Linked DNA regions of Homo sapiens: all the other regions are linked to region 1. The links are contacts of gene promoters, found by promoter capture Hi-C in human tissues and cell types (Jung and others, 2019). All regions are on one chromosome and are shown on one strand. Each heading gives the region's core, a stretch centred on a gene start or on the middle of the fragment in contact. The rest is flanking DNA. Distances are from core to core; before and after follow the strand shown.

Region 1 (4,404 bases), core at 1-2,500:
GGGGCCAGTGCGAACCAGGGTACGATAATGGTCATTCTTAGCCGAAAAACCAGAGGCCACAGCACCCGCAGTCAGCAGGGGAAGGCGCCAGTGGGAGGCAAAGCGGGCCACAGAGGCAGCAGGGTACACGCAACCGGGACCTAACAGCAGGTCGGGGTCATGGTACAGCTTGAGGTCCACAGCGCTCAGCGGTGCCAGGTACTCAGAGCAGGCGCCTTCCAGTTCGGAGCTGACAAACCGCAGGTCCACGGGCAGTGCCCGGCCCAGAGCCTCCACAGCTAGTGCCACAGCGGGTCCCACCCGTGGCCAGGCCCAGGCATAGCTCAGGTTGTGTTCTGGCAGCACCACCGCCAGCGTCAGGTTCCGCGCCCCGGGAGGACGCACCCCACCTGCCAGGGCTGCCACCAACAGCAGAAGTGATGGCAGCGCCATGGGGATAAAGCAGCAGCCCCACCGCCCCCAGAACTTGGGGCTGCTCTGGCCTACAGGGGAGACGCGAGCACCCCCCAGCCTGGAGCCTGGGGAAGAGGGCCAGGAAGAGGAGGAGTAGGCTAGGTAGGCTGGGATGCAGAAGGTGCTGGGGGCCGGGGAGAGGAGGGGGAGATGGGAGGAAGGCGGGGGGCGGGCAAGGAGTGGGCTACCAGCCTAGGGCAAGGACTGAGGACTGAGAACGGGGTGGCAGGGGGAGGGAGGGACCGAGGGGGCCTGCGGCCAGGATGGGGACAGTGCGAGGTGAAGAAGCCTGATAAATCTAAAGCTGAGAAGGAAAAGGGGATCTGGGACTGGGATGGGGTGGGGGTGGGGGGCGGGTGGTACAAAGAAACGGCCTGGGGGAACCTCACAGCTGAAAGGGCCGGGAGGGCAGGAGGGCGCTGCGCCACATAGGACCAAGGGGGTAAGGTGGGAGGGTGCCCGCGCCGCGGAAGGACTGGGATCATGGGCAGGCGGGGAGCGAAGCGAGGCCTGGGCCGGAGGGCAGGGGAAGGCAGGGGTAAATCTCCCTGTGAAGGATTCTCCCGGAGCTCCTGCTTGGACTAACGGGCCCGGGCGCTGGTCCCATCCGGAGCTACGGCGGCCCCGCCCGTGTCCCCGCTCCTCTCTGCTCCGCTTCTCCTGGGCCCTGGCGGCCGGCGCTGCCCGGCGCTTCCTCCCGCCCCCCGCCTGGGCCCCGCGCGCGCCGCTCGTCCGGGTCAGGTCGCCTCGGCCCGGCCCGTCTCCGCTCGCTGCGCCGGCGGCCGAGTGCGACTCCCCCGGGCAGGCCGCCCGCCCCCGCCCCTCCCCCGCTGCCTCTCCTCCTCCCTCCCGGCCCCACCCTCCGGCGCCGGCTGCCTTCCCCCACCCCCCACCCGGGCGCTCGGGACCGCCAGGTCCCAAACCCACCCCGGTGAGCACTTGGGGGCTCCGCACCAAGGCCTCGCCGGCCAGCAGGGTTCCCGGGCGCTCCCTCACTCTCAGGGCCTACCCTGGTCTCCCCCACGCCCCTGGTCCCCCTGCCGCCCCTCCTTCCATTTCCATCTCACACACGCCAGCGACCCCAGGGTTTGTCCTCTCCCCCTCGCTCAGCCCGTTCTTCTTGGGTCTCCCCTCTGAACTCCCTGAGTCCCTCAGTGGTTCCAGTCTCCAGGAAGCAGTCGAGGATCCCCAGACGTGTGGTATCCTCACCAGCCCCCTCACCTAGCAAACCATAGCGCCCTCCCGACGGCAGTGCGGCTTACTCCACCGCGGACCATGCCCGCTCCCTGGACGGGCCCCTCCAGCAGCCAGGGGCCCCTGCTGTACACTTCCCACCAGTCCTTAGAAAGTCCACGAGGCTCCTTCTTGCTTGGGACTCAACTCTCGGCCCCCCGCTGTCTCCATGCCCCCTGCCCTCCTCGTGTCCTCAGAGGCCCACCGCAGCCCGCCCGGCTTCCTCCGCACCATCTGCTCAGTCAGGGCCTCGATTTTCTTTTGTCTCCTGCACAGCGCAGGCTGGCGCCTGGGGAAAGCCTGTAACGGACCGGCGGGACACTCCCCGCAGTGGAAGCCCATCCACGCTCTCCTGGGGTTCCACCTTGCTCCCAGCTTCCCTTAGGAAGCTCTCCCTAGGGCCCTCATATCTGGAGTGCCAATCTGACCCCAAGAACAGCTTGTGAGGGATGATCTCATGGTGGCTGAGAGGGACTGCTATGGGACCTTGGGGATTTTTCTCCAACTGTCATAAAGGACATGCACATAAGCCCATTCTCTGCCCGCGCTAAGAGCCACGGTTTCTCTCCCCCCTTCAAGCTATTTCTCCAGAAATCACAAGCTAAGAGCGCTCCTGGAGCCCTGGAGTGGGGTGGGAGTGTATAGGGCGAGGACGGGCATGGTTTCCCTGAGATGAAGGCGACACCTAGTGGTTTGGTGGGGGAAATTAAGGACAATGCCACTTTATCCTTAGGCACGATATTTATTGAACACCGGCTGCCTAGCACAAGCTGTACCTGTGAATACAAAGAAAGCCGAATGATACAGCCCTTACCTTTGAGGAACATGCATTTGCAATCCCTGGGGCACAGAGGCCAAGAGCAGGCCGTCCCTAACAATGTTCTTGCCTCAAGCCCAGTAGAGATGGAAGCCTCAGGACAGCTCCTTCTTTAACGCAGAGGGGTTGGTAACTCTAGTTCCAGGCTCCCAATACTGCAGTGAAAAGGAATTTTGTCCTATCTGGCCAAGGCAAAAAAAAAAAAAAGGAACAGTCAAAAGAATGACGAGACAACATGAGAAATACTTTAGACCAAGTCAACCAAATAGAATAGTTGATTTTTAAGCAACTACACATTGTTTTATGAGACAAGCAAATCCAAAATGACAAAATTCCTGAAAGAATTACAGAATGGCAGGGCTAAGAGGATCATATAAATATATTGTTTAGCCCTCTCATTTAAAGATAATTGAAAACCAAATCCCAGAGAGGAAGGTCGCAGTGTCCTTACTTGCTCCTCTCCCCCAATCCCACATGGCTTTTTAGTTGCAAAAGAGAGATTAAAATGCAGGTTTCATGGTCTCCAAGGAGAGGCTCTTTATAGATATTTTGCTGACTCATGGAACTTACTGTAGAAAGCTGTGCTTACAATATAATAGCCACCAAACCCAGGCAAGTCTCTCTGGAACACCTGCAGCCCTCAGTGAGGATCAGCCACCACTGTCACCCAGACTCCTACGCAAGTACAAGTGCATCATATGTCATTATTCTGAACATTAAGGACTATTCTTCATTATGTTAGGGATTAAACATTCAAGCATCTTGCCTTTCCCTTTTCCTCCCAGTTGGCCAGTTAACTAGAAAGTAGGAAGGGGCCAGGCACGGTGGCTCTTGCCTGTAATGCCTATAATCTCTATTAAAAACCAAACAAATCAATCAGATATGGTGGCACGAACCTGTGGTCCCAGCTACTTGGGAGGCTGAGGTGGGGGGATCGCTTGATCCCAGAGGATAGAGGCAGCCTGGGTGACAGCAAGACCCTGTCTCAAAAAAAAAAAAAAAAAAAAAGGAAGTGGAAGGAGCCTGGTGCAGTGGCTCACGCCTGTAATCCCAGCACTTTAGGAGGCCAAGGTAGGAGGATTGTTTGAGGTCAGGAGTTCGAGACTAGGCTGGCCAACAAGGTGAAATCTCGTCTCTACTAAAAACACAAAAATTAGCTGGGCGTGGTGGTGGGCACCTGTAATCCCAGCTACTTGGGAGGCTGGGGCAGGAAAACCGCTTGAATCTGGGAGGCGGACATTGCAGTGAGCAGAGATCGCGCCACTGTGCGACAGAGCAAGACTCCATCTCAAAAGAAAAAAGAAAGAAAGAAAGGAAAAGAAAACATAAGTAAAAACTAAAAATAAAATTTAAAAGACAAAAGGGAAGTGGGAAGGAGTGGGGAGATAAAAGATAAATCCCCTAATGAGGTTTTTTATTAACACACAGTGAAAGGCTTTTGGTGTTTATTTTTTCATGTTTGAGGGAAAGCTGAAAATATTAAATAAATGAGAACTTCGGTTATGTATATATCCCACTATCCAAGCTATCACTGCTGTCATTGATATGGGCAATAATATTTTGGCTGTATTTGGTGACCATGCTGCAATACATAGAAAACCTAGGAAATCTAGATTCTACTGGCCTAAGCAGCAACCAGCTAGGGTCCAACTTTCTCTTTGTAGCACTGTCATGGCCTTCTTCTAATCCACAAACAGATACCAGCTATAATTTCTTCTGGATAGGGTCAATCAACACCCTCTTTCTTTTTCTTTTTTTTTTTTTCTTTTTTTGAGACAGAGTCTCACTCTGTTACTCAGGCTGGAATGTAGTGGCGCAATCTCGGCTCACTGCAACCTCCATCTCCCAGGTTCAAGTGATTCTCCTGCCTCAGCCTTCCAAGTAGCTGGGATTACAGGCGC
Region 2 (4,728 bases), core at 73-2,572, 400 kb before region 1:
TAGGGGCAGGTAAATAACATTTTTAAACAGTTCTCTTTTTATCAATGCTACCTCTCTTTAAATCTTTCCACTTTGGTAGATAACACACCAGCCAGTAATACATTCAGGAAAGTCAAAGGACTGGGGTTTCTTTCTAGGTCAGTCAATTAAAATCACAGGAAAGGAAGATTCTCAATCACTATCAATGAACAGAATCAGAGTACTCTGTACCTGGTAGTATTCACCATTCATTACTCCATCAACAGCATCTGCAAGACATAAGATTTTGGTCTATCAATAAGGACTGGTCAAACACTGGGCCAAAGGGTTGTACAGTAGAATACAGCATCATATGCTGTATGAACCTTGAGCTACTAAATGCTATCCCTGTGGTAGGTGCTATATACAACAAATAAAACCAAGATGTGCTTATATACAAATTTCACCAAAATGTGTACACATCTGTCCTTAAGCTCCCAAGTCCAAAAGCTTTTGATTTTATTTTCTGTTTTCTATTTTACAGTGGTAACAAATGGAAGACTAGCAGAAAGAGAACAGTGTTTCTCTATGAAAATTCTGCATGAGGGAAAAAAAAAAGTGTGGCCTGGAATCACCCATAGTGAGCAGAGACCTGCAGCTTCATCTTTGAGACAGTCTTGCTCTGTCGCCCAGGCTGGAGCAAAGTGGCCCAATCATGGCTTACTGTAGCCTCGACCTTTTGGGCTCAAGCGAACCTCCCACCTCAGTCCCCACAGGAGCTGGGATTGCAGGCATGCGCCACCACGCCTGGATAATTTTTCTATTTTTTTGTAGGAAGGGGGTTTCGCCATGCTGCCCAGGCTGCTATCGATTTCCTGGACTCAAGCGATCCACCCGCCTCGGTCTCCCAAAGTATTGGATTACAGGCATGAGCCACCATGCCTGGCCTCTCATATTTTTCTTAATTTTCCTAGTTGACTTTTACTCCTATATGTCAGTACAAAAATGAGTTTCTTATAGTTTGTCAGTGGCCTTTTACCACTTTAAGGCATGTGCCACCTACCTATGTAGTTTTTTAAGCACTCTATAAAGTTTTGGAAATATGAAGTTTATCAAACTAGTGAAAGCATGGGGGAAGCATATTCAATTTCGCCTCTGTAATAAATTTCTTGGTGTAGAATTGCTGGGTTACAGCTGGGCGCGGTGGCTCACACCTATAATCCCAGCACTTTGAGAGGCCAAGGTGGGAGGATCACTCGAGGTCAGGAGTTCAAGACCTGCCTGGCCAACATGGTGAAACCCACCTCCATATACTAAAAATACAAAAATTAGCCAGGGTGGTGGCATGAGCCTGTAATCCCAGCTACTCAGGAGGCTGAAAGAGGAGAATTGCTTGAACTCGGGAGGCAGAGGTTGCAGTGAGCCAAGATCGCGCCACTGCACTCCAGCCTGGGTGACGGAGCGAGACTCCATCTCAAAAAATAAAAAAAAAAAAAAAGAAAAAAGAAAGAAAAAAAAGGAATTGCTGGATCACAGGATATGTATTTTATTTTTTTTTGAGAGAGAGTCTTGCTCTGTTGCCCAGGCTAGAGTACAGTGGTGCAATCTTGGCTCACTGCAACCTCCACCTCCTGGGTTGTTCAAGTGATTCTCTTGCCTCAGCCTCCTGAGTAGCTGGGACTACAGGCGTGAGCTATCATGCCCACCTAATTTTTTTTGTAGTTTTAGTAGAGACGGGGGTTTCACCACGTTGGCCAGGATGGTCTCGAACTCCTGACCTCAGACGATCCACCCACCTCAGCCTCCCAAAGTGCTGGGATTACAGGCATGAGCCACTGCGCCCAGCCAGGATATGTATTTTTTTATTTTTTTTGAGACGGAGTCTCACGCTGTTGGCCAGGCTAGAGTACACTGGCGCGATCTCGGCTTGCTGCAACCTCCGCCTCCCAGGTTCAAGTGATTCTCCTGCCTCAGCCTCCCGAATAGCTGGGATTACAGGCACGTGCCACCATGCCCGGCTAATTTTTGTATTTTTTAGTAGAGACGAGGTTTCACTATGTTGGTCAGGCTGGTCTCAAACTCCTGACCTCAGGTGATCCGCCCACTTCAGCCTCCGAAAGTGCTGGGATTTCAGGCGTGAGCCACCGCACCTGGCCCAGGATATGTATTTCAAAGACTTCTAAAATTCTACCCACTTGTTCCTATTAGTCTACCAGTTTATATTACTACTAGCAGCACAAGTGCCCCATTTCTTAGACCTTCCCTGATACTAGGGACTGTGCTTGATCATGTTTTAAAATTTTTGCTAATTTGATAATGGAAAAAAAAAACAAACTCATGGTGGCTTTGTTGTGCCAATCTTATTTCCAGTGAGGTAATCACATACCCGACACCTGATTTTCTTCTTTACTGAATTTTCTGAGTTTGCCTATTTTCCTGCTATTTTTTGATCTCTAAGTATTTGCTCTCTAATAGTCAAATATTTTCCCTAGTTTCTCTTTTGATTTGGTTTATGGTATTTAACACTTGGAACAACTTAATTTGTGTATGTAGACATGATCGACTTTTTCTTCATGATTTCTGTATCTGCTTTTATGCTGAAGGCCTTTCCTATTATGAGATAGACAAATACTCACTTTTCTTCTTTTACTTTTTAAATGTCTCTCTTTAATCCACCTGGAATTTATTTTTGTGTAAGACAGAAGAGTGAGATAGTTTTAAATCCTAGATCCTACAGTGGCTAGTCTGGCCAGGCCTACATTATGGTTAATATAGTACAATTGACATACCAACTATCCACTAATATAGTCCAGCCCTGGGCTGGAATATGAGAGACTTTGATCACTACTCCATATACAAAACAAGAAGCAATCCTCATCCCACATCTCCTTAAAAATCACATGCTGTCTGAAGGCTCCTCCAGACCCACTGGCATCTGCTTTCCTCTTTATTAGTTACTGTATTACTGCACTAACATTCTTACAAGAATCAACTGGCTCAAGCCAAGGGATCGTCTGTTGCTGTGGAAACATGCAGAAAGGACATGTAGGGCCTTGACTTACTACAACAACTAAACTAAGCAACACGATGCTTCAGAAGGAAACTTTCTAGGGCCTTTCAGGAACTCCAGACAGAAAAAGGGCCAGTTTTCAAAAGTGAAAGACTGTCCCAAACCCACTTTCAACTTTCCACATTCCAGAAACATTTGAAGTCAAGCAGACCTACGTTTGAAGCTGCACTTGAGCCATTTATTACCTTGCTACCTTAGTGACACTGCTCAACTTCCACACCGATCCATTCTCATCTGAAATATGACACTACCACTTAACCTGTGGAGCTACTGCTGGGATCTGAAAGTGTACCTGGTATACAGCAAATGTGCAGTACAATTAACTATCATGCATGAGATTTCCCTAAACTTCCCTCCACCACTGCTACCAATAAAATTACTTCTCCAGAAAGCTTCCCTTTAATTCACCCATGTCTCTTTCTTCTCCTACAAGAAATAACTTGTCACCGGGTGCGGTGGTTCACACCTGTAATTCCAGCACTTTGGGAGGCCAAGGCGGGTGGCTCACCTGAGGTCAGGAGTTTCAGACCAGTCTGGCCAACATGGTGAAACCCCGTCTCTACTAAAAATACAAAAAGTTAGCTGGGCACGGTGGTGGGCGCCTGTAATCCCAGCTACTCGGGAGGCTGAGGCAGGATAACTGCTTGAACCCAGGAGGCGGAGGTTGCAGTGAACCGAGATCGCACCACTGCACTCCAGCCTGGGTGACAGAGCGACTGTCTCAAAAACAACAAAACACCATAATAGTGCCTTACTGCTGTACTCTCTCTGTGGCTTGTCTCTCCTGTTCTCTTCCCCGACTCAGCCCTCATGATTGAGAGCTTTTCAACAGCTCCACTTGTGCTGCCTCCTTCATGACCACCTGTTCTTCCTCAATATCCCCCACAGCTGGTTACCTCAATATCACTTCACCCAGCTGGTTTCTTCCTGCCTCTAAACCTACGTCTCTTTTCTGGATCTCTTAACAACCAAAGGAGTCATCCAAGGCTTAGCCCTAACCCCTCTGGTTTTTGCCTGTGCCCATCCTCCATAGACGCTTTCCGCAAGGCTGGGGCCAGTTTATTTTCCTCTCATCAATCTGTCATAGCTGACTGCCTATATATCTCTGTATAATACATCAGAAAGAGAGCTCCCGCCTAAAACCTCAATTTACTCAGTACACTTCAAAGCCTAAAGGCCTTGTAACTCCTTTCTCCCACTAATAGTAGCTGGAATTCACTAGATACTTAATATAACTGTAAGCACTTTATAGACACTCTTTAATGTAATCCTAAAGATGCCACATAGCATTATAAATTATATTATGCAACTTTTACAAAGGAGAAAACTGAGGCCGGGCAGTGGTGGTAGTTATATACATTGTCTGAGATCACAAAGCTAAACTCACACTCAAGCAGTTTAGGATAGCATAGAATCTTAACCACTAGAGCATATCTTTAAAAAAAAAAAAAAAGAAGGAAAAAGAAAACTAAGAGAGAAAAAGTGTCCAATCAGTTCTCTAAACTCCAAAGGAAATGCTGACCACTGCATATTACCAACTTCAATTACACTGTCAGGAATCTGGCTTTAAGTCACCAAATGCTTAGTTCACTAAGAAAGTCCCTCCTAGGAACTAAGTCAGCAACCATTTCTTTCCTTCCCTTTGCCGAAGGCTTGATGCACAAAGGACCGAGCATCCAACTCTATTCTCTCCCTTTTAC
Region 3 (4,123 bases), core at 634-3,133, 260 kb before region 1:
AAGATAAGTTTATTCTAAACTGTTCTTAATTACTTTTAGTCAACTGGTAACAATGAAAAATAGACTGTCATCAAACCCGTGATACTGGTGAAGATCAAATTCATAAACAGCATTATGGCACATAAATTCTCCATAAAATGCTGTAAGATAGAAACAAAGCTTTTTTTTTTTTTTTTAATTGATGCTGATGAGCTGACAAAGGTTCACTCACCAAGCCAAATGGCTCACTTCCAAATAGGACGTTATGCAATTACAATTTGGTGTTTCAGTAAATAATAAATCATTACACATATCAGACAGACCTTCATGATTACCTGCAAATAGCTGAGACGGTAAAATCCATGAATGCTATGGACAGTGAAAAAGGATTTATCTCCAGTTAGCTTATTTATTAGCCATTTTCCTCCAAAACTACCAACTACAATTAAGAAGTGAAAAGAGATAGAATATCACTATTTTGCAACGCCTAGTGAATTAATGCATTTAGACAATTATCACAATGACTGTTAACATCACAAAAAGAGACATTTTTGGGGGAAGACTTAAACAAAACTAAGTCTCTGGATCTGGCTAAGGTAGCTGTTAGCCATGTGTGGGTATTTAAACTTAAATCAAGTAAAATTAAATAAAATTAAAAATTAAAGTTCCTCAGTCTCTTTAAGCACATTTCAAGTGTTCACCTGGCACATGTGGCTAGTGGCTACCATATAGGTCTAGAATATTTTCATCATTGTAGAAAGTGTCATTGGATAGCTCTGCTCTAAATCTAACTGCCAATTACTAAGAAACACAGAGGAAAAAGGAAAATGTTAAACGACACCAGGGGGATGTGAATAGCAAAGTTTGGACTATGGGAAACTCTATAGGACAAATGATCAAATTAATTCATCAAATAAATTGCAAGGAGAAACCTACAGATCAAAAGATATTTAAAAAACATATAACCAACTGCAATACATATATATCACTTGAATTCTGATCCAAACTAAAAAAACCTTTTAAATAATTAAGAAATCTGAATAACTAGATTTTTGAATATTACATTTTCAAAGAAGTAATAACAGTATTGTGGTTATTTTTTTTTTAAATGACATATCATTTGTAGCTCCAAACTGAAGCTATGGATCAAATAATATGACAATTGAGATTTTGCTGCTACATAAATTTGCCTCAGTATAGTGGGGAAAGTAAAAGGAGATTTAAATGAAACACAACTGGTCATGACTTAATAATATTGAAGCTGAATATGGGGGTTTATTACACTTTTCTCTCTACCTTTGTATATACTTAAAATTTTCTATTATAAAAAGACAAAAGGAAGAGTGAAAGAAAAGAAAAATCGATTGAAAAAGACAATAATGAAAGATAAGAAAGAATGGAAAAGAGAAAGAGGAAGAAAAAACGAAAGATATGACATTGGTAGCAGACTAGGAAAAAGCACAGGGAAGGCTATGCTCTCTCACTCATTTCTTCTTCCTGCAATTCCATCTCCCCTCAACAACAACAAAAACAAACAAAAAAGGCAAAAAACCTACAAGTACTTGAAACAGGTTAGAACAATGGAAAGAATATAGAACTGAGAGTTGGAAATACACTCTGAATACCACTGGGCAAACTACTTGGCCTCATAGGAGGTAGTTATATCCTGGTGGCTAAGGGTATGGACTTCGTAATCAGACACATTTGAGTTTGAGTCCCTGTTCCTCAACTAATTGGCTTGGGACCTTGGTAAGTTATTTAAGTCTTCTATATTTCAATTTCTTTACCTATAATATACAAATAATGACAATACCTTTTTCAAGGGCTGGGTGTAAGAATTAAATGAAATAATGCATGTAAAGGGGTATAGTAAAGGGCATGGCACTTAGGGAAAAGTGTAAAATAAAATTTAGGTCCCAGTTTCTGGTTTCCTGAATAGCTAATAAGCAAAATTAAAAAGTTAGATAATCTATTGGGTCCCTTCTGTCTCTAAAATTATGATCCCATAAAGTAGAATGAATTAAACTGATAAACACATACTTATTAGAAATACATTTAGCTTAAATAAACCAGCAGGTACTATGTAAACTTTCAGATAATAAGGTAGACTTGAATATAAAGTCACTTTTCTTGCTAAACAACTAGTAATCACACTTAAAAAGAAAGATGAATGCTTATTCAGAATACATACTAGAATATATACTATAATTATACAAATCATCTCAGAGCAAAAAATTTAATAACCAAACTTGTATGCCACTCAAGGCAGAAATTATCAGACCATAGGGTTTACAGTCTTGAATTCTGAGAAGTTTTTTACCCATACTTATCTCCTTCCTCTGTTATAACTCATTTTTCCTTTGTCTTTAAACAAGTAAAAACCTTCCATCTTGAAACTAATCTTTACTTCCTGCACTTACTAACTTTTCCAGCTTTTTCCTTTCATTGTACCCATTTCTTCACCAATCAACTCAAAAATATTAACTAATTAGTTTGCATGAGCAGGGACATGAATACAACATAGGCAAATGAGACACAATCCCTATATTCAAGGAATTCATAATATATACAGGTAAGACATATACAAAAACTGAATACATTTTTGTAAGTCCAAAAAATTACATAACTGTAAATATTTTTATTAAAAAATTTTTAATGCCTGCAGTGTGACTTTTAGCTCCCTTGCTCCAGTTGATCTACAAATATTTATTGAGAGTTTTGAGTGTTAGATACTGTTTTAACTGTTCTAGGCACCACGGAATTCATCATAAACAAAGCAAACAAAAATCCCTGCTGCAGGGAGATGTTTTTAAAATCTCCACTAATTGGCTTTTTTTTTTTTTTTTTTTAAACTAAGGGCCTTTTCTCAGATCTCAAACTCCTTGACTTTTCTTTGGCATCTGACACTGCTGACAGTTTCACTGTAAACCATCACACATATTTTGCTGAATATGATAAGCTACCAGCCCTGACTTCTTATCTAAATTCTAATTCCAAAAGTTTTAATTCCAAATCCCTATCTTCACATAGTGGTTTTCACTGATAATTCAACAGCTCACCTTCTCCTCAAACCATATCTTTTCCCTAACCTCCTAGAGTCATCAAGAATGCTGTTTACTCAGTTCAAAATCTAAATGTCATCAAGACTCCATCCTGTCTGCATTCCCTACTGGTTGAAGAAATAATGATTCCTCACTCACAGCATTTCCTTCTCTTTGAAGTGAGCTCTACGAGTTTTAACAGCCCTGGTCTCTCTCCACACCCCTGATACACTTCTCCCATGATCAGGATGGCGACTTAGCCGACCATTGAGTTTAGTAGGGGAAAGTAAACATATGTAACACAGCCCTTACCTCTCCTCCTCTGGGAGTAAGTCTAATTCTGTCACTTAGTGTGTGCCTAGAGATAAAAGTCACATTCGACATCTGTGTAACCAGTAATAGGAGTAATATTTTTGGACCTATCTGCCTTATTTCTCAATTAGTTAAGAACTTGGTTGGGGAAGAATGTTCTTTATTAGGGTGACTATAGTATTCAATTAATTTGCTAAGTTATATAATTTCTAGCATTCCAGATTTTAAGAAATTAGACCTTGCCTGCTGCTGGTGCCTCATTACAAGATACCTCCTAAAAATCATTCACCCTATAGAACATCAGTAGAAAAAGCAAGAAACAAAGTGAAAAGTCAGGTAAGTCATGTTTCCCAAAGTAGCAGAACTACTTTAAAAGCTTCCTTATGATATCATCAAGGGGCCATTTTTGCTTTAAAAAGCTATTCTTCTGGCAGTAAATGTGCAGCAAACTTAATTTGCAATAGTGATTTGACATGTCACTGAATTCTCCGGTAGCCATTTAGATGAGCTGAATCAGTGTCATGTCTTATAATCAGACCGTATCTTGCAAAATCTTTCTACGTCTACATTATTATTGCTTATGAGAAGTTATAGTCCCAGTTAAGTAGTTCTCTCAGTTTTAAAAATAACAAGATCCAGGTTATTACTTGAAGACTCCTCTAAAAGATGATTGAGACTATTGTTTCTCGAGTGCTAAGGCTAGACATACATGACCAAGCCTGAAAGAAAGGTAGGGCTTTATGAATGGGTAGTGCTTCAGTGGAACTTTCATAAACAGGTTCAACCAGAAA
Region 4 (4,104 bases), core at 157-2,656, 280 kb before region 1:
TCAATGCAGCCAATGCAAGGTTGAATGTTTGTTCACAGAGTAATCTATTTAACCAGTCCCCTATTTTTAAAATCAGCTCCTTAAATTGTAACCAAAAAAGGTCACCATTTTCTTGAGGTTAATATTATTTTCCTTAAAAATATTTTGATCCTAAAAAAATTATTTTTGATCCTAAAATCTTTCCTCTGGTAGCTGCTCTCAATAACTAGTTCCCTGCCCTACTCTCGCGATTAAATTCCTGAATATTTGACAATTAGTACTCCCAAGCTGGTAGATGTCAGCTCCAATATATTACTAGGTGGGGGTGTGTTAGGATGGATTCAGGAAGAGGGAATTCCAGGTAGTACAAGCCCTTTGATCCACTGTTGGGAGCATATGAACTGTGGGCAAACCTGGCACAAAAACAGAGTAAATCAAAGTTGAGGGAACCCTATGTGATCCTTCATGCCACACTGGTTTTCCTTTTGGTGGGGAAGACCCTTTGGGTGCACCTGGGAAGTAGACTCTGCTGGTCCAACCTCTAGCCCAGAAGTTCGCTCTGCAATTTATTTTCTGCCACTTCAGTGACCCTTTTCTATTGATTTTTAAAATAGGAAACTGGTTAAATAGATTAATCTATGAACAAACATTCAACCTTGCTTTGGGTGCATTCAGAAGAGAGAAATCCAAATAGTCCATTGCAATACAGTGAGACCAGACTATTCTCACAACGCAGTGTCATGGAAGAGCACTGGTAGGGCAGTCCGGGTTCTAGCCCTGGCTCTGCCCTTTGCTTGCTACGTATATCTGGCTGTCCAATTTGATTTGGCTTTTGGATTTGAAAAAAATGGTTCATTCCTCCATTTGTCCACTTGTTTCAATCCTTTCTCTGTCCACTGCCCTTTTACTACTGACTACTCCAGCTCTCTCTCATTTTCATCAATGATAAAGATGATGACAACAAAACACTGATCATATGAATCTTGTAAAAAAAAATTACAGGTTTGAATTTTGGATGATTTAGTTACTTTTGGACAAAGACCCAAAAGAGCACATTTTATTAACTGTTATGTTAATGTTTTATATGCCCAGTACTTTCTACTTAACTATGCTATTACTTAAAAGTAAAGGGGCTACTTTGTTTCTAAGGCCTCAATAAATAAAAATCTGTTTCCTTTTCACAGATGGGTTGAAATTTCTTCCAGTTTAAAGTTTCACATTTCATAGAAGAAATCCAGCTTATGAAATGCTAAGTAGGAGAGGTTAAATATAACTGTTCTTTAAAAACATAAATGTTTTTAAACCTCTACAAGGTGTTTTTTCCTTGTGGATACCATGAATGTCAAAAAGTATAGATGACTAGAATATGTAAGGAGTTTAATGTCATGACTTGGAAATATCACTAAACAAGTGATTATTAAATTTCTTCAGCCTTCCAAATAATGTGTCATTTCAACAGATATGCAAATAAAAATGAACACTCAAAACAGAAATGAGCTTTATAGGTCTAGACTGCTCAGAAAAATTTGCTCATTATCACCACAGGGCACCCAACCAGCTGGAAGCAAATTCACTGGCAAGTAACATCTGCAGAGAAACACAAGGTCTAGAAGACAGCCTAGCACAGAGTATGTGCTTGTGGTGAACTGACTACAGTAATGGCCCCAATTTTTCACATTTCCTTATATCTATTTATTGTACAGTAACTCTGGCCTTAGCCATGTGACTTGCCTTGCTTTGGCCTAGTGGACACTAGCAAGCTTGGAGTAAGCAGTTGCCCGAACTACACTTGCATGTTTCCACTTTCTCTCTTGGACTCCTGCCACCACCACGTGAACATGCCTGAGCTAGTCTGCTAAAGGGAGGGGAAAACATGGAGAAGATCTGAGCTGACTTAGCCAAGGGCTTCCTAAAGCAGGCAGCCCCAGGCTGACCTGCCATCTGATTGTAGACAGATGAGTGTGCCCAGCTGGAATCAGCTAAGCCTGGCCAGAGCAGAACTGCCTAGTAAGCCCTTAGATTTGTGAGAAATAATAAATTGTTACTGTTTTAAGCTATGGAGTTTTGGGATGGTTTACTATACAACATTATTGGGATAATAGATAGTACTCAGAATGAAAACATTCTCCACAGTACAGTAGAAAATGAGCACTTTCTCCATGCATTCCAAGAGTGTAAGACATTTACACAGAGTTTCCACGTAAAGCTGATATACTGTGTTACAAAGAACCTTGAATAATTCTGTTCTCCAGAGTGGGAAAAAGTCTATAAAATTTTTCTATCTATAAAAGTACTGACTGTAGCACTTTGTTACAGGCAACAGCTTTCTGCTCATCCTTTAAGTCTTACCTGCTCTGTGAAAGACTTCCCCATTTCCCTAGGCAGGGTTTTTTCCTCCAGGCTCCAATACATTCTAGCAATGTACTTGTCTCACTGTATTGTAATGGACTATTTGGATTTCTCTCTTCCCATGGACTATGAGCTTCTTGCAGACTAAATCCTTTCATTTTTGTACCCTGAGAACAATGCCTGATACATATTAAATATATTGGTTCAGTGTGTATCAGTTCAATGAATGTTAAGTGAATGAATGACAGAGACAAAGATAATTATATGAACTCTGTCCCAGGAACTCAGGGATTAGTTTAAAAAGAGACATGTAAACATAGTTATGCTATAGAGCGACAAATGCTATAATAAAGCATGCAAAGGGCTTGGAAGTAGTGATCAATTTTATGTGTGTGGAGAGAAGATGAATGGGCAGGAAAGGCTTTAAAGTGGTACCATTTAAACCAGGATTTAAGGCAAAGGTTACTCTAGTTCAATAGAGGTAATGATGTTCTGGAACCAGCTTTTTTTGTGGGGGGTGGTTGTGGAGAAAATCTGGATTTGCAGTATTTGCTGATGTTCACGCTGCAAATACCTCCACCCATGGCTGATTTTAAGTTACAAGCTGGCTTGCAAAATCCCTGAATATTTAACAAGCAGTACTCCCTAGCTGGTAGGGAGCTGGTATTGCCAGCTCCAATATACTATACTTTTTGTTCCAAGATTCAGAAGAAGGAATTCCAGGTGGAACAAACAATTTGTACAACTACAACTAACAAATAAAACAACAGGGTCAATCTGGGAAACTATAAGTAGCATGCTGCTTAAATGTAACAGAGAGAAGAACCAGGAGCTAGACTGAGAAAAGCTTGGGATACTGGGCTGAGGAGCATGAGCTGTGTTCTACAGGGAAGCAACTGAAGGGTTTAAGGAAGGTAGTGACATGGATCAAATTTGGTCTTTAAAGAGATTAATCTAGAAGTGGATATAGTAGATAAGAGGAGAAATTAGACACAGGAAAACTAGTTTGGCAGCTATTATAGGTATCCAGAAAAGTGGCAGAAAGACCTAAGCTAAGGCAATACCTGAGGATCTGAAAGGGAGACTGATTTAAGGTACATTTAGAAGGCAACTCTTTAGGCTTGAGAGACAGTAATTTGCAGGAGGTGATGAGAAAGAGGAAAGAGTAGACAATACCTCTCAGGCATTTAAGTTGATGTGCCTGGAAGGATCATATTGGTACAACCAAACAAGAAATGCAAGAAAAATCATAAGTTTTGTTTTGGGATGGATGTGTGTGTGTGTGTGTGTGTGTGTGTGTGTGTGTGTCTGTGTGTGTCTGTGTGTGTCTGTGTGTTGCTGTTTAGGGGTGGAAGGGAGGGAAGGGGAGGCAGAAAAGGTAGAGAAAGTAATAATCAATTTGGTTGATTTAAAATCAATCAATTTTGGTTTGATTGTTTGTTGTTCCAAGGGAACATCAAAAGTACATGTATCCAATAGTGTTCAGGAGCTCAAAAAAAAAAAGGTTAGCAATGAAGATTCTGAAGTTGTCAGCATATAAGAACAATTAAATCTATGGGAGATGAGATTGCTTAAGGGGAAAACCTTGGCCACTTAAGATGAGACCAGGTCGCAATCTAATCTGATTTGATCAAATTCCCTTTTGGAATCATCTCGTTCAGGTGACTTCTGAGAAGAATGAACTGGAAAAGGAAATACACTAGCAGCAAGGAGACTAAATAGGAGTTACTCCCTTCCCCCAACTACAAAACAAATACGACAAACCAAAACAACATA

Evidence for each region. Contacts are between HindIII fragments. The study calls those that stand out against the background at their distance.
Region 2: a fragment that was not itself captured here is called in contact with the fragment with the promoter of NPR2 in region 1 in 1 of the 25 tissues and cell types used here (mesendoderm cells).
Region 3: a fragment that was not itself captured here is called in contact with the fragment with the promoter of NPR2 in region 1 in 2 of the 25 tissues and cell types used here (IMR-90 fibroblasts and hippocampus).
Region 4: a contact is called between a fragment that was not itself captured here and the fragment with the promoter of NPR2 in region 1, in 3 of the 25 tissues and cell types used here (IMR-90 fibroblasts, stomach and thymus).

Annotation. Positions count from the first base shown.
Region 1 is chr9:35,788,437-35,792,840 of GRCh38, reverse strand. It overlaps NPR2 (natriuretic peptide receptor 2), which reads right to left and starts at 1,250. Exons shown (of 22, transcript NM_003995.4): 1 at 1-1,250. The coding sequence starts at 432. It also overlaps a transcript of RGP1 not described here. The HindIII fragment of the contact is 19,498 bases long and covers 1-4,404 here.
Region 2 is chr9:36,193,071-36,197,798 of GRCh38, reverse strand. CLTA (clathrin light chain A) reads right to left here. Exons shown (of 5, transcript NM_001833.4): 2 at 211-248. Among named protein-coding and RNA genes, the nearest start is that of CLTA, 4.5 kb to the right of the region's middle. The HindIII fragment of the contact is 6,945 bases long and covers 1-4,728 here.
Region 3 is chr9:36,053,205-36,057,327 of GRCh38, reverse strand. All of the region lies in intron 2 of RECK (reversion inducing cysteine rich protein with kazal motifs), which reads right to left. Among named protein-coding and RNA genes, the nearest start is that of RECK, 18 kb to the right of the region's middle. The HindIII fragment of the contact is 5,209 bases long and covers 1-4,123 here.
Region 4 is chr9:36,072,774-36,076,877 of GRCh38, reverse strand. All of the region lies in intron 6 of RECK (reversion inducing cysteine rich protein with kazal motifs), which reads right to left. Among named protein-coding and RNA genes, the nearest start is that of RECK, 38 kb to the right of the region's middle. The HindIII fragment of the contact is 8,058 bases long and covers 1-4,104 here.